Linked DNA regions of Homo sapiens: all the other regions are linked to region 1. Evidence: promoter capture Hi-C in 16 types of primary human blood cells and fetal thymus (Javierre and others, 2016). All regions are on one chromosome and are shown on one strand. Each heading gives the region's core, a stretch centred on a gene start or on the middle of the fragment in contact. The rest is flanking DNA. Distances are from core to core; before and after follow the strand shown.

Region 1 (3,496 bases), core at 522-3,021:
TCATTTCAGCATTAAAATATATTTGATAGGTAAATCCCCAGTCACTACAGGGCAATTCAAACTATACAACATGGCATACAATCTGTCCTCAGTTTATCTTTTCAGTTTCAGATCCAAATAAATATTCCTCCAGTCTGCTATATTATGTTCTAGTCACTTTGCTAGCTGTTGGCTAACCCATATACTTTAACATCACTACTGTTTATGCTTTTCCTTCTGGCTGTGCTCCTCCATGACCTGTGTACTTTTAACATTTTGTATATACTCTAACATAGCAATTAACACACCATATTATAGTTTGACTGTCAATTATTCGAAACAGCAGTTATGGTTTATTCACATGAAAATTTCCCAATCCTTGGGTGGGCGCGTGGCTCACGCCTGTAATCCCAACACTTTGGGAGGCCGAGGCGGGTGGATCACGAGGTCAGGAGCTGAGACCAGCCTGGCCAGCATGGTGAAACCCTGTCTCTACTAAAAAAAAAAAAATTAGCCGGGCATGGTGGCGCGTGCCTGTAATCCCAGCTACTCGGGAGGCTGAAGTAGGAGATTCGCTTGACCCCGAGAGATGGAGGTTGCAGTGGGCCAAGATCGCGCCACTGCACTCCAGCCTGGGCGACAGAGCGAGACTCTGTCTCAAACAAAAAAAAGAAAATTTCCCAATCCTTACCACTGTGCCTGAGATATAGAAGATGAACAACATATGCTTGATAAATGACATTCCAAATATTAAGCTGTGTACAACAGGCAATATCTACATCAACGTTTAATTGTTAATCCCGCGTAAAAGTTTTAACATCGTAGAGTCAATAACACTTGGGAAATAGATAAAAACGTACTGTCCAAAGAAGAGACTAAGAACAAGATAAATAGGGAAGGATAAAAAGTAAAATGTGTTGATTATTTAGGACGAAAGGCACTAAATACAGCCAGAGAGAAACTGTGAGGAAAGCATGTGGCCTCTAGTCTAGAACACTAGCTCAAGAAAACTCACTTCACCGGAAGCCAGAAATGAGCAGAGAGCGGAACCAGTGAAGTGGCCTTTCAGGCCCACGCAGTCAGCGTGTGTGGACGTCCCGAAGAGCTATTCACACATTCAAGGCGTTCTGCTTTGAATAACCAGAATCTCGAGTTCCTGGGCGGCTTGAGCCGCAGACACCTCACCCTTGAGAAGGCGCACCCTAGGGTGGCTTCTGCAGGACTAATGGCCTGAGCAATGCACTTGACCTCACCAGCCCGGGATAAGGTGCGCGCCGCAGAGAAGGGGCAGTGCAAAGGGCAATACGTGCTTAAGAGCTTGGGGAGCGAGGGCCCTCAAGTCAATTACAGGATTTGGGTGCCAGGTCCTGAGGATGCAGCAGGCACAAGACTGACACGATCCTTGCCCTCGTGGTGTGGCTCTACAAATTACTGTGGAAACGCGACTGTCTCGAGCTGAGGAGAGGGCAGAACATCTACATTTCCCCCACCCGGACTCCAGGTTCCTGAAGTCACCTCTCCAGACGCGGGGCGGCGGTGGCCGCAGGGAACCACTCCATGCCCAGCTTGGGCCTCCTCCCGTGACCCCAGGCCCAGGACGGTCCCCTTGGTTCTCACCGAATCCTTTAATGAGCTCGGTGAAGACCCCGGGGTCGCTTTCCATGAGGCACCACTCCCCGGCATTGCCCGTCATGGCCCTGGCCACACACCGCCCCGATCCACCTCTCGCTCTCAGCTGCCCCCCGCACCAGCTGCCGCCGGCCACAGATCTCAGCAAACCCGCCGCCGAGCTCGTCAACCACACGTCACCCCGCCTACTTCCCGACAGCCTCCGGGCGCCGTCACCTGCAGCGCGACTGAGCGCGGGAGGACGCTCTAGCCACCCTAGAGACATCGAAACTCTTCCCAGGCCTTGCAGCACCCGTAGCGGATTCGGAAGGGCTGGGGCCTGAGAAGAAAGGGCGGTGATTCACAGCGCCGAGGAGGCAACATCCGGGATCCTCGCCCCTCTGGGGCGGAGGCGGGGCAAAAGAAGAGGGGCAGGACTCGTTCCCGGGAACCGAACCTGGAATCCCCGGCGGCAGTGGGGCTGTTGCTGTTGCTGTGGCTGTCGCTGCCCGTCAGGCTGCCTTCTTTTGTCGTTTCCCAGCGCTGCGCAGGACTTCTCCTGGCGGCGCTGCGGATCCAGGGGGTCGGCTGCCAGGTACAGGTGAGGACATTGCGGGAGGCCGGCTGGGAGCCTTTTGTGCGGCCCCAGGGACGCGCAAATTCTGACCAGTCCTCCATGTCTCTCACCCGCATCCCAGGGGTTGAGGCTGGGCAAACGCCGCGAAACTATCGCTCTTCCCCGTCCCGCTTCCGCGCCTGTCCACCCTGGGTAACGGAACCAGCATCGCGGTAGGGACATCCTCGCTAGGCCCGGCCGGACCATTCCTCAGGGTGGGCCCTTTCCGAAGCCGGGACCGCTCCTGCTTGTCGGCATCGCTCCCCACAGGCCGACGTCGAGAGGGCCTGCTTTACTCCTCCTCTTTCTCCTCCTTCTCCCGCGGCTTCTGCGCGGAGAGGCGTCGCCCGGGATCTGGGTTTTGGAAGAAGGATCTTTGTGGGAAGACAGGGTGAATTTATCACAGAGGAATAACGAGGGAGAGGAGAAAGGTTTGTCCATGGGGCTGCTAGACTAGTGGAAGGGGATGCGGTGCGTCAAGGGAAAATTAGGTTGAAAACAAATGTCGTGTATTAATCTAAAAACATTTGGAATGGTTCTAAAACTGGATGATGAGTTAAACCAAATATTTACTAAATATTTACTAAATTGCCCTCATTCAGCAGGCTCTTATAGAATACTATAGTGTTAAGATTAAAGTTTTTAAGAGTATATTGAAGTCGTTAAGTGTATATTTACTCCTTAAAAGCTACATATTCCAAGAAAGACCTTTGGCTTCCAGAAAAAAAAAATGTTTTAGTGGGTAAAACTCTGACTCCTTCCTTCTCAAATAGGTGACTTGTGCCCTGGAGTTAGGGAGCCTTGTGCTACAGATTATGTGAAGCCATGAAATAAACGTGGTAAATTTTATTGAGGGAAGCAACAGAGCAGCTTTTGTATTAAAAGGAGCCTGAGTACGCTATGGGGTAGAAGCCAAAATTTGTATGAAGTGTTGGTTTAAAAAAAATTTTTTTTGTAACTTTCTTGAAGTTTATCTCCGGAAACTCTGCCCTCAACTTGGAGACTAGGAGGATTCTGTACAGTATATTTCCTTGAGATACTTTATTGGAAAAGTTTAAGAGGCACAGAGTCCAGAATGATTGGCATCAGAGCCCAAAGTAGTTTGTGGTATTTTTTTTAATCTGTAATATTGCTATGAACTTGAAAATGTTTTCTGTGCAAAATACATCAAAACTAAAATGTACTTGATACCCAACTTAATTAACATGGTACCTATTGTAGAAAGACCAAACTGAAAATTTAGCCTTTGGCACAATCTAGAAGTAAGCAGAGAAGGGGGTTAAGATGCCTTTC
Region 2 (3,496 bases), core at 652-3,151, 1.2 Mb after region 1:
TTGCTAGTGGTCTATCAGCCTCCATGATGGAATAAAGTCACCCTGCATAGCAGGCTCTTCCCAAGTTTACATACAGAAAGCAGGCTAACATCCATCCCTGTGCTCTCAGTTTTCCTTTCAGCCTTTGAACCCACTTCAGACTCTCAGTCCTCCAGGGATCAGCACACATATATCTCATGAGCTTGACCCTTTCTCCCTTCACAGTATCCTCTGGGACTATAAATTATTGGCTTTTTTATTTCTTTCTCTTATGATTGGGGCTTTTAATATTTCATATTAAATTGAATTCTTACTCAGCTTAACATCCTGGATTTATTAAATTTATATGACCTAATCAACAAAAAGTTTCTTTATATGTCAATGGAAAGTGAAAGTTTTAAAATCTTCTGAATATGCTTGGTTTTCAAAACAATTGTCATGAGATGATACTCTAGCAATCCAAAGGTGAACCTATTTTTTTTTTACTTCTTTCTTTTTGTAGTCCTCCTGTAAATCCTATTTATCCCTGAAGCAAATAGTTGCCTCTGGCCGACTAAAGAATAATCCCAAACAAAGGGAACCTAAAATATAAAAGTAAATATTTTTCAAAAAATATGATCTTCATTATGTAGTCCTGACAAATAAATGACAAAACAAAGCAAAGGATTATAAGTGTCAAAAGAGAAAGCAATCTAACTGGGGAAAGCAGTCAGAGAAAGATTAACAGCCCTACGAGTTTATGGTTTAAGTGATTGAAGACTGAAAATTTTAGCCTTCCTGTTGTTATTGTTGAAGGGGTCCCATTAGCCTGCTGAAGATAAAGTGTGTGTAAAGACAGTTGGTGAGCAATAGGAAAATCATATTTCAACCATATGTCCATGATGCACACAGCCTGGCTTGTACATCCCTGAGCCTGAATCTTGAGCATGGGTCTTCTTTGCTCAGGCGTTGTCACATGGAAGTATTTAACCTGTGGAATGAGCCCTTTTCAGGCTCCCTTTATTTTCCTGCATATACTTATCATTCTGGTTGTTCATATTCCTTTAACTTCTCCATTCCTTTAGTAGTTCCTCTTTCCTTCTTCTGTTTCTAGTCTAGGAACCTTTCTCTAACCCACTCTTTAGGCTTGTAAATATTCCAAAATCCATGGTTGGGATATTTTTTACCTGATTCCACTGCTGGATAAAGGGTGAAGTAAGCTTCAGTTTCTAAGCACAGAGAAACATAGAAAAGCGCCCATCTTGTCGTATTTCTGAGTGTAAAATGAACTCATTTCTGTATTTAAAAATAAAATCTGTATCTCTAAAGCTGCAAGAATAATTTTCTGCTGATTCTCAATTTTTTGGTAGAGGGTTGTAAATCTGGGCCAGGGGCATCATTTTGTTAAAATTTAATTTTATTGAACTTTGACAAATTATACTTGTAGATATTTATGAGATACAAAGTGATCCAATAATACGTATAAGTGTGGAATGTTGAGTCTAAGTAACATATCCACCATCTCAAATACTTATCATTTATTCCTCCAAGTATACACACACATACACACACACAAACACACACACACACAATGGTGAAACCCCGTCTCTACTAAAAATACAAAAATTAGCCGAGTGTAGTGGTGCACACCTGTAATCCCAGCTAGTCAGGAGGCTGAGGCAGGAGAATCTCTTGAACCCAGGAGATGAAGGTCGCAGTGAGCCGAGATCACACCACTGCACTCCGGCCTGGACTACAGAGCGAGATTCCGGAAAAAAAAAAAAAAAAAAAAAAAGACAGATATTCTGTCATTTGCAGAAGCATGGATGAATCTAGAGGACATTATGCTAAGTAAAATAAGCCAGGCACAGAAAGAAAAATACATATTCTTTCTTAAATGTGGAATCTAAAATAATTGAATTCATAGAGGTAGAGAGCACAATGACGGTTATGAGAAGATGAGAGGTGGGGGAAATGGGAAGATGGTCAATGGGAGTAACTTATCCTGAAATACAAATCAACCATTCCATCTGTGATTAGAAAGATTATCCCAATACAAAAGAAATGAGTGTCAGTTCCAATGCAATTTACTTTGCTCTCCATGAGATCTGGTCATCAGGATGCTTAAAACTATCTCCAGCCCAGTGGTAAACCCTGACCATATTCAGGGTATACGTATACCCTGCCAACCATGAGGAGTAACATGAGAAGAAATCAATCTCTCTTGCTTTCTCATTTCATTACCAACTGCCAAGCTCTCCTCTGTGCCATATTTCCCTTAGACTTTGTCCTTCATTGTCATGTCCCTATGACTAAGTTTCCTTCTAGGATTGAGCTCCTGCCAACTTTTATTAGTTTCCCTCCAAGTTACCAGAATGCATACCTTCTGCCTAAGTATAGAACATTTTCAACAAATATGCCTGATAGCCATTGCTTCCCAGGTTTGTTTTATCATCTACCCAATAATGTTTGTTTGTTTCTGTTGTTGTTGTTTTCTGATTTGAACAAACTATTGCTGTTTATTTGGAATGAGGACCTAGGTTGCTGACTCATTCGCTATGGTATCTATACTTCATTCTGAATATATAACATTCGTACTTGTAAATAGATCTCTACTCCAAATGGCAGTTCAATCTTAGGGACTGGATCCAGAACAGCACCTAGACCTAAGCTTATTTATTTGAACATTTCCTATCATGAGCCATATGTCAGAAATTTTAGTTTAGGAAGCTGTGGTAGCTGAATGCTTTCCTGTAGCCCAGGACTATTATTCTCTAGAACTTGGCTGAGCATGAGAAGAAAAATAGAACAAGCAGATGGGCTTTGCCTTCGGGTATGGCAGCACACTTCATTCTTTAGAGTATAAGCTTGCTGCTCATGACACTACGGCAGAGCAGAGCCTAAGAGGCCACATAGAGATGAAAATTGCTGCCTTGGCCTCATTATTCAAAGTCTCACTACCCAGAATACAAGCTTAGAAAGGATTCTTCACTATTTTATTCCTATTCTTGCCTGTCAGGAGATATTGTTGAGCCTGTACACCATGTGAAACATCATTTAAAGTTCTATGGAGGATATATGAAAATATTTGGAAAACAGAACCACTCTCAACCCCCACAAAAAAAAACTGAAAAAAGAAATAAAATGTTTATTTTTTCTATGCAAAGCAAATATGAAGTCTCCCCTCTCATTCAACAGTATTTCTGCCTCAAAAAATAAATAAAACATAATCAAAACACTTTAAATTCACTCTAACATGTAACAAAACTGTCACTGGAGATCTCCTGATTTGAGAAATCATAGGGTCTGCAAAACCACAGACTAAATATAATGCTAGACATTTATGTAAAATATTTCAGCAACAATATGAGTTGTATTATTAGGATGAACAATGATGGCCTTATGGTTAAATAAGCATATCTGAATACCTTATTTCTCAAACACACTGAAAATATGGGTTCTGCAAATGGTATCCCTCTTTCTCCCTAAACCTAGAGCAGTGCCCAAGAGAACAGAATACAGGGCCAAGTTTTATGTA
Region 3 (3,496 bases), core at 617-3,116, 1.2 Mb after region 1:
CAGTGTCCATAACTTGGTGAGTACATAATAAAATGTTGGCATTTTAGCATATTTCAGAAGATAATTAATTACAATCTCTGACTACAAAATATTTTTAAGGTATTTAACACAGATATATTTATTCAATGCAATAGCATATAGAAAGTTCTGCATTCACACATAGTAGCTAATCAGAGCCAGTACTGAATGGAGCATGACAGTTTAACATATTCAAACAAGCACCAAGTAAGAAAAGATAAAGGATAACTATAACCATGATATTGAGGTATATTGTCTAAGGAGTTATCCATATCTAGTATAATTTAATGTCTGGTGCTTATAGATTAAATATCTATTTAATACAAACAAACAAAAAGCTAATTTTAGGTGTTCCACGAATAAAATATAATGAATCCATCTCCCACTATTGGGACTAATGTGGAAAACTGAGTAATGGACCAAAACAACTAAATTCTTTAAACAAATTTTTCTTGGTTTAGTATTTATAAACATTTAAGTAAATTATTGGAAAAGATGAAAATATGAAGATTTTAGAGTTAAAAGAAAAGGCATGTAAAGGCATTTAAAAATAAACACATTTCTTGATTTCTTACATTGATCCATATTATTGTATTTCAGCTCATTCAATATTAGTAATAAACAGGCAACAAGCTGCTGTATCTCTTTGAGAATGAATTGTAAACTTATGAAGTAACAAGACGAATCAGGAAGAAAAATTCTATTCAGAGAACAATCATTGAAATCAGAAAGAGATATATTTAAGTTATATCTGTATCACTTACTACCTCTGTAATTTTGGGTGAGTTATTTAGGTTATAAAAGCCTGATATCTACCTCAAAGTGTTGTAAGAATAAATAGTAATTACGCATGCAAAGGGGAAGCAAGGAGATTAACAAATAGTTAATGTTTCATTCATTTGCTGTCATTTACTATGACTTTTGTTAAGGAATTGTTTTTCATAAAACAAATTGTATTAAATAATCATATTACCCATTAGCTTTCATATATAATTCGGAAATGTATTCTCAAGAATAACCAATGACATTATAACAAATAAGTTGCTTGCTTCTCAATGTTTACCAAGCACGGAGTGAGTTACTGGATATCCACTATTCTCTAGATAATTAATTGATAGCATTAAATATGCCCAACTCTGGCCTTGTAACTTTAGAAAGTCCCATGAGTTAATTATGCTGTGTAGGTTTTGCTTCTTAAGAAAACTGAACGTATTTTTAATACTATGGTGTTTGTTAGGTTAAAAGTTAATTGGAAAAATAAAATATTTCCACTCCAAGCAGAATTTGTTTTTCACCTGTGGCTAACATATGAAAATTATACACTTTCTTGGTGCTACATAGTACAATACAAAAATTGTGCTGCAAAACAAAAATTAAAAGATGTAAAGAATTTTGGTGTGACTTTCAGTGATCATGATATGCTTAAAATAATATGCATAATTGAAACAAAAGAATGAATCTTTGAATATAAACCACAGAATATTTCCAGGAAAAGCATATTAGCTTGTCTCAGTTAAATCTTCCAACCAAAGGCTAGAAAATTTGAGTAACTTCTTTTTATTAGTCACTTTAAAGCTTTCAAGTCCTGTAGGAACAAGATCCTGGACAGAGGAGAAGCAAAGAGGTGAATGTGGATTTCCTATGTGTGATTCTTCCATCTGGGGATACGACAATCCACATACGGTGGTATGGAATTCAAGAAGTTGAACAAATATATTTTTTTAATCTCCCAGAGGTGGGATAAAATAAATTGAATGTAAGCCTGACGGGGAGGAGCACACAAATACTTTAGCCTTTTATTTGTGAGGCCTGAAGGAATATACTCTTAAAAAAACAGTAACTTAGGAACTGACTAGCTGTCACAAACATTGAAATCCCACCAAGTATTAGCTCAATCACTAACTGAATTATGGTAATTTCCAATAACCTATACTGAATTCTAGAGTCTGGAAACTGAAGATAGCTATGAGCAATTTACCAAGACTATGGAAGTATGGATTACAGTTCAGGGCTTGCAGAGGTGGAACAATTTTTATGAATACACTAGTCTTCCAGTTGCATGAAGACAAAATCAAGTAAGATGTAGACCAGATCTCATAATGATTTGTAATCAGTTTCAAATAAGCTTAATTTCATATTGGATTAAGGTGGTATGGCCCAAATTTAACTACCTGTGAAAAACGAAAGAAAAACTCTATAAAGACAAGCCAATGTGTTAAAATATTTCTAATTTTTTTTCTGCACAATTCCATTTAAAAAATTACATGTCATAGGCCACGCGCGGTGGCTCACCCCTGTAATCCCAGCACTTTGGGAGGCCGAGGCGGGCAGATCACAAGGTCAGGAGATCTAGACCATCCTGGCTAACACGGTGAAACCCCGTCTCTACTAAAAATACAAAAAATTAGCCAGGCGCCTATAGTCCCAGCTACTTGGGAGGCTGAGGCAGGAGAATGGTGTGAACCCAGGAGGCGGAGCTTGCAGTGAGCCGAGATAGCGCCACTGCACTCGGGCCTGGGCAAAAGGGCGAGACTCCGTCTCAAAAAAAAAAAAAAAAAAAAAAAAAAATTACATGTCATAGCAATGGGCAAAAATAAATGGTGGTGCTAATTATGGTGATCATGATGATAATAACAAAGATTAGAAAAGAAACAAAGAAATAGTTTCAGAGGAGTAATAGGTTATGAGGATTTGAGACCTAAATTATAATATGAGATTAATTAATATTTTCAACCAAATAAAGATGAATTGGAATTTTTCGTCAGAGAACTGAACTTTATAAAATGAGTTATGAGAAAATTAAAAGAATAGAAAATATGCTATATGTAAAATTAAGAATTAAAGGGCTGTACTGAAAAACACATGAGAAACAGCAAAAGACAAGATTGGAGATCTGAACAGTAAAACAAATGAAAATATTTAGAGAGAATACAGAAAGAACAGAGATACCATGAATAGGTCTAATATATGTGCAAATGCAGTCCCATTAGAAATGAAAAAAAATTAGACAGGATAATTATTTGAATAAGTAATAGCTAACGATTTCCAAAAACTGATTACTGATATGAAGTCACAGATTTATGGAGATATATATAGATATATATATATAAAGTCAGGCCTTCCATAAATATATATACACGCAAAAACTATATATGATATATATATCAATATCATATAGATATTATATATCTATATATAATATAAACATATAATCTATAGTATATAATAACACATAACACATTATAGTAAAGTATCTAAAATGTTGAATAGAAAGAGAAAATTTATAACCACCATCTGATTCAATGCTATTCCTATCAAACTACCAATGATGTTTTCATAGAATTAGAAGAAACTATTCTAAAATTCGTATGGAACCAAAAAAAAAAAAAAAAGCCTGAATAGCCAAAGCAATCGTATGCAAACAGTACAAAGCCAGAGGCATCACACTACCCAACTTCAAGCTATACAACAAGGCTAC

Evidence for each region. The method cuts DNA at HindIII sites, captures the fragments that hold promoters and counts their contacts. A CHiCAGO score of 5 or more calls a contact.
Region 2: a contact is called between a fragment that was not itself captured here and the fragment with the promoter of UCHL5 in region 1, in 9 of 17 cell types (total CD4 T cells, naive CD8 T cells, naive CD4 T cells and 6 more). The highest score is 13.6, in total CD4 T cells.
Region 3: a fragment that was not itself captured here is called in contact with the fragment with the promoter of UCHL5 in region 1 in 2 of 17 cell types (total B cells and naive CD8 T cells); the score reaches 6.7 in total B cells.

The regions. Positions count from the first base shown.
Region 1 is chr1:193,057,589-193,061,084 of GRCh38, forward strand. UCHL5 (ubiquitin C-terminal hydrolase L5) reads right to left here and starts at 1,772. Exons shown (of 11, transcript NM_001199261.3): 1 at 1,597-1,772. The coding sequence starts at 1,672. RO60 (Ro60, Y RNA binding protein) reads left to right here and starts at 2,024. Exons shown (of 9, transcript NM_001173524.2): 1 at 2,024-2,188. RefSeq lists enhancers at 1,124-1,433, 1,458-2,190, 1,594-2,123, 2,191-2,923. The HindIII fragment of the contact is 5,498 bases long and covers 1-3,496 here.
Region 2 is chr1:194,298,299-194,301,794 of GRCh38, forward strand. The region is part of intron 2 of LOC107985242 (a long non-coding RNA gene); the gene reads right to left. LOC105371670 (a long non-coding RNA gene) reads right to left here and starts at 1,648. Exons shown (of 3, transcript XR_922390.2): 1 at 1,609-1,648. The HindIII fragment of the contact is 1,451 bases long and covers 1,177-2,627 here.
Region 3 is chr1:194,273,913-194,277,408 of GRCh38, forward strand. The region is part of intron 2 of LOC107985242 (a long non-coding RNA gene); the gene reads right to left. Among named protein-coding and RNA genes, the nearest start is that of LINC01031, 970 kb to the left of the region's middle. The HindIII fragment of the contact is 550 bases long and covers 1,592-2,141 here.